Regions from separate parts of the Homo sapiens genome. Here region 1 is linked to region 2. Evidence: promoter capture Hi-C in human tissues and cell types (Jung and others, 2019). All regions are on one chromosome and are shown on one strand. The core of a region is centred on a gene start or on the middle of the fragment in contact, and the rest is flanking DNA. Distances in the headings are between cores, read along the strand shown.

Region 1 (3,065 bases), core at 492-2,991, 34 kb after region 2:
CAAACCAGACTGCTGGGCCCCATCCTACCCTTTCTGGTTCAGTAGGTGTTGGATGGGGCCTGATAATTTGCATTTCTAACAAGTTCCCAGGTAATACTGGTCTGGTCTGGAAAACCACTACAGTAAGACAAGATAAGGATGGGTATAGATGGAAGTAAGTTTACACCTGTAAGGTAGAAAGGACACGAAATTGAGAGGTATAAGGCCAGGCCATAGGAGGTGGGGTTGTCTGCTTAGAGTAAGAGGTACAAGGAGCTCTTCAATTAAATTCTCTTCATAAATACCTGTTCTAAGTCAACAAAAATAAGCATGGGGAAAGGACTCCCTATTCAATAAATGGTACTGGGACAGCTGACTAGCTATATGCAGAAGAATAAAACTGGGCCCCTACCTTTCACCATATACAAAAATTAACTCAAGACAGATTAAAGATTTAAATGTAAGACCTCAAATTTTAAGAATCCTAAAAGAAAACCTAGGAAACGCCATTCTGGGCATTGGCCTTGGGAAATAATTTATGACTAAGTCATCAAAAGCAATTGCAACAAAACAAAAAATTGACAAGCGGGACCTGATTAAACTAAAAATCTTCTTCCAACAAAAGAAACTACCAACAGAGTAAAGAAACAACCTATAGAATGGGAGAAAATATTCACAAACTATGCATCTGATGAAAATCTGGTATCCAGCATCTATAAGGAATTTAATTCAACAAGCAAAAACCAAATAACTCCATTAAAAAGTAGGCAAAAGACATGAACGGACACTTCTCAAAAGAAGACATACAAGCAGCCAACAAACATAAAAAGATGCACAATATCACTAATCATCAGAGAAATGTAAATCAAACCACAACAAGATACCATCTCACACCAGTCAGAATGGTTATTATTAAAAAGTAAAAACAACAGATGCTGGCGAGGCTGCAGAGAAAAGGGAATGCTTAGACACCATTGGTGGGAATGTAAATTAGTTCAGCCACTTTGGAAAGCAGTTTGGAGACTTCTCAAGGAACTTAAAACAGAGAGCTACCATTCAACCCAGCAATCCCATTACTGAGTATATATCCAAAAGAAAATAAATAATTCTACCAAAAAGACACATACACTCCTATGTTCATCACAGCACTATTCACAATAGCAAAGACATGGAATCAACCTAGGTGCCCACCACCGTTGGACTGGATAAAGAAAATGTGGTACATATACACCATGGAATACTATGCAGTCATAAAAAAGAACAAAATCATGTCCTTTGCAGTAACATGGATTGAGCCAGAGGCCATTATCCTAAATGAATTAATGCAGGAACAGAAAACCAAAGATAGCATGTTCTCACTTATAAGTGGGAGCTAAATATTGCATACTCATGGACAAAGATGGCAACAATAGACACCAGGGAATAATAGAGGCAGGAGAGAAGGAGGGGGACAAGGGTTGAAAAACTGTTGGGTACTGTGCTCACTATCTGGGTGATGGGATCATTCATATCCCAAACCTGAGCATCATACAATATACCCATGTAATAAACCTGCACATGTACTCCCTGAATCTAAAATAAACGGTGAAAAAAAAACTTGTTCTGTAAACCTAAAATGATATAAAAATTCTGTAAATTACTATCATTTTAGTCCAGAAAGACTGTCTCATATTTTTATCCATCAACCACCAGTGGTTTATTTCATGTGTGTTGTTTTTCATGTCTTTCTCTCTGTTCTCAAACCCCTCTCTGAATTGCAATAAATAGATCTCTCCTTTGCTAACCTAGCCACTTGTGGTTTCACTAGTGGTCAAATTTAAAAAAGCATGTGTCCTCTTACTTTTTTCTCGCAATCCCCTTAAAATAATTTGTTAAAACTTTGGGTTCCCCTCACTTATTTTAATCCTATATTTAGTGCTTTTAACTAATCATAAGCTTAAATACGTTAATAAGTAGAAAATATTTACCATTTTATGAAATAAGATGAAAATTTATATTAAAAGAAATGTTTCAGTCTGTGACTTGAAAAAACCTTAAAGAAATCCAACTATACTCTTAACAAGTCAGCACCACCAACCTATACTATTCTGGTTCTGAATTCAGAATATTCCAATACAGGCCAAAATATACCATGTTTAAAGCCAAATCTCACCCTGAATAGAAATATTAATAAGACAGGGAAAGACAGAGGCATTACAGACTTAAGATACCCAAATTGGTTACTAAAATAGGCTTCTCCAAGAACTGTATTTCAGTTTACCCCTCTGTTTGGCATCCCAGGTTATACCACAGGTCAACATACCATACCAAGATTTAGAATAGGTGGGGACGTACATTTCTTTTGTAAAATTGAGTAAGGGCTATTATGAACAGATTCATTCTCGTACCAGTTTTAGGATGGAGTACAAATGGATGTAAGAGATCTGGAAATTGATTCCTATAAAACTGCATAGCCCTTGGAAAGAACCTATAGGGTCTTGCATACCCCAGTGTGAGGACCAGTGGATTAACACATATCATAATAAACTGACTGCCATTTATTGAGCATCTACTACACCAAGTACAATGATAGGCAGTTTATATATATATTATCGCTAATCCTTTACAACTCTATGTTATAAACACTGTATTATATTCATTTTTCAAATGATGAAATTGAGGCTTAATGCAGTTAACTGATTTGCCCAAGGTTCTACAGCTGGCAAGTGACAGAGTGGGAATCTGAACCCAAATCTGACTCAAAGTTATGCTCCTTTCAAATCACACTGTATCTCTCTTACCTTTAGAACATCGGTGGGATTGGCTATAGTGGAAGATATCACTCCTGACACTACCCCACAGATCATATTAATTAAAAGAGTTTCATCTGTGAAAAGGAAAAGAAAAAGAAAGGTCTGCTTGTATTAGGCACCAGTTTGAGTACATACTACTGACCTACTGGAGGAAGGGAAACTTGGTTAGAGAGATGACTTTAGAAATGAACCAAAAAGCTTAGGAAAATAAAGAAACTCAAATATTTCTAGATCTCAATTCAGTGCTAAAATATATTAAAACTTGTAAAATATAAATCATTTCTAAAAACATCA
Region 2 (3,016 bases), core at 250-2,749:
AAGAAAGAAAGAAATGCAGATTCTCAGACTCACCAATGACCTGAAACTCTGGGAGTAGGACCCAAGAACCTGGGTTTTAAGACACCCTCCAGGTGATTCTGATACACTCTCAAGTTTGAACATGGGTTTGAAAAGGGCTAACTTGACTCCGTGGAGTCAAGAGCTGGGGAAACCCAAGCACACCTTAGGTCCAGGTATAAAATTAGGCTAGGTTCTAAGCAACTGGAATCAATCTCCTAATGGACATACCAAAGAATAAGAACTGTTTTCAGGATGGCAACTAGAATACTGAATCCCCACAACACAGTCTTTCTGATCCTTTTTTAGGAGAGACATCTGCCAAAGGCCCTCTCAGACTGTCAAAACATCCTGGAATATATTTGCGTCCAACTCTGCACCTTGCTCTCTATTCCCTCACTTCAAACACTAACCTTTCCCATTTGTGCTCTCACCTGAACTGAGTAAATAAGCTTCTAACCACTCTTCTCCCCACCCCTCTCTTCTTGGTATCCAAGATGAGAGTGGCAGGCGAAAGGGTAGTTCTAATGTACCCAAGCAAATGGATACACATCCTAAAACAGGAGTGACTTATGCAGCTGCCCCTCCAGAGTGCATCTCACCTGCTTCAGCAACACAGTTGCCCTTTGGTCTAACCTCCCCCCCTCAACCGCCCCCACGTTCCTATTCCTGGAAAATGGAAAATTCCATAGCCAAACATCAAGCAGACACTTCCCAGAATGCAGCTCATCTCCTCTTCTCCTCCCGCAGAGATACCTCAGGTCTATAGGATTAAGAAAGGCAAGCCCAGCAGCCACTACTCACTGACCAGACCTGGCCCAACATGCTGCAGAAATAATTATCAATTAGTATACTTGAGAGACAGCAGCGTGAGGTGGAGAATGGGTTCTAAACTGAATGACAGCTGTTAACAGTTTTTGGCCCTGTTTTTCCTGTCCTGAATCCTCAACTGAGATCCTAGGGATGAGAAACGGGGGAACAGCACGCCCTACTTGAGAGAATTAGAATTTGAGGCGCTAGGAAGCAAAAGGTAAGAAACAGCTTAAATGTGTGGTAGCACTCCTGAAAATATGCTGGGGCCCCTCAAAAAGCTCACCTTCCCTCACTTCCCACTTCAACTGATTATGAGCATCTTGCTTGATTAAAAGCAATTCATAATAGTAATTGAGAATTAGTAAGAAAAAGCTTAATTAAGCTGAGATTAATTATTTAAGCTGGTACTCGAGGTTTTGGAAGAAAAGTAGAAATTTAATGTCAAGGTATGGAGGAAGAAAAAAGTATGATTGGAGTCAATTATATCTTTTGACAGACAGGAGACCTGATGAATGTCCCTGTCCCTCCAGAGTCCCTGAAGCACCAGTGAAGGGAGAGGGCCTGGCGAGACAGCATGTACAGGTACTTGGGAGTTGTCTAGTAACTTGCTGGTTGGAGGGGGAGGGACTAGCTCAGGGCCCAGGGGGAGGTCTATACTGAAGTTGCTGCCTTTAGAGAGCTGGAGAGGCAGGAGGCTGAGGACTGAAAAGAGAGGGTGAGTAATTCTTCATGACCTGTAGGATCCCAAAGATGGCGACCTGCCAGCCTGGACTGCCAGCGAAGGCCAGAATCGTGCTGTAGCTCTGAACCCACAGCTCCTCTGCCCCTGGCCCATGAGAATTTCAGCTGGAGAGATAGCATGCCCTGGTAAGTGAAGTCCTGCCACTTCGAGACATGGAATCATCTTTCTCATTTGGAGTGATCCTTGCTGTCCTGGCCTCCCTCATCATTGCTACTAACACACTAGTGGCTGTGGCTGTGCTGCTGTTGATCCACAAGAATGATGGTGTCAGTCTCTGCTTCACCTTGAATCTGGCTGTGGCTGACACCTTGATTGGTGTGGCCATCTCTGGCCTACTCACAGACCAGCTCTCCAGCCCTTCTCGGCCCACACAGAAGACCCTGTGCAGCCTGCGGATGGCATTTGTCACTTCCTCCGCAGCTGCCTCTGTCCTCACGGTCATGCTGATCACCTTTGACAGGTACCTTGCCATCAAGCAGCCCTTCCGCTACTTGAAGATCATGAGTGGGTTCGTGGCCGGGGCCTGCATTGCCGGGCTGTGGTTAGTGTCTTACCTCATTGGCTTCCTCCCACTCGGAATCCCCATGTTCCAGCAGACTGCCTACAAAGGGCAGTGCAGCTTCTTTGCTGTATTTCACCCTCACTTCGTGCTGACCCTCTCCTGCGTTGGCTTCTTCCCAGCCATGCTCCTCTTTGTCTTCTTCTACTGCGACATGCTCAAGATTGCCTCCATGCACAGCCAGCAGATTCGAAAGATGGAACATGCAGGAGCCATGGCTGGAGGTTATCGATCCCCACGGACTCCCAGCGACTTCAAAGCTCTCCGTACTGTGTCTGTTCTCATTGGGAGCTTTGCTCTATCCTGGACCCCCTTCCTTATCACTGGCATTGTGCAGGTGGCCTGCCAGGAGTGTCACCTCTACCTAGTGCTGGAACGGTACCTGTGGCTGCTCGGCGTGGGCAACTCCCTGCTCAACCCACTCATCTATGCCTATTGGCAGAAGGAGGTGCGACTGCAGCTCTACCACATGGCCCTAGGAGTGAAGAAGGTGCTCACCTCATTCCTCCTCTTTCTCTCGGCCAGGAATTGTGGCCCAGAGAGGCCCAGGGAAAGTTCCTGTCACATCGTCACTATCTCCAGCTCAGAGTTTGATGGCTAAGACGGTAAGGGCAGAGAAGTTTCAAAGTGCCTTTCTCCTCCCCACTCTGGAGCCCCAACTAGATCAGCAGGAGCTAGGGGGATGAGAGCACTTGCTTCAGGCAATTGACCCCTGTCCCAGCATCCCCCACCCCCAGACTGACAGGTAACTGAGGCAGAGTCCTGACTTTCTTCTATAATCAGTTTCCCCATTTTCAAATCGCCACTCCTCCCTGTCCTTCTTTTGAAATGAGCCTGTCTCTGGTGTACAGGTACACTTACTTAAAGCAAGAAATGTACTGCTA

Evidence for each region. Contacts are between HindIII fragments. The study calls those that stand out against the background at their distance.
Region 1: a contact is called between a fragment that was not itself captured here and the fragment with the promoter of GPR119 in region 2, in 1 of the 25 tissues and cell types used here (hippocampus).

What each region holds. Positions count from the first base shown.
Region 1 is chrX:130,350,426-130,353,490 of GRCh38, reverse strand. It overlaps SLC25A14 (solute carrier family 25 member 14), which reads right to left. Exons shown (of 11, transcript NM_001282195.2): 6 at 2,760-2,845. Among named protein-coding and RNA genes, the nearest start is that of SLC25A14, 12 kb to the right of the region's middle. The HindIII fragment of the contact is 3,303 bases long and covers 90-3,065 here.
Region 2 is chrX:130,384,157-130,387,172 of GRCh38, reverse strand. It overlaps GPR119 (G protein-coupled receptor 119), which reads left to right and starts at 1,499. Exons shown (of 2, transcript NM_178471.3): 1 at 1,499-2,737. The coding sequence starts at 1,726. The coding sequence ends at 2,733. The HindIII fragment of the contact is 3,374 bases long and covers 838-3,016 here.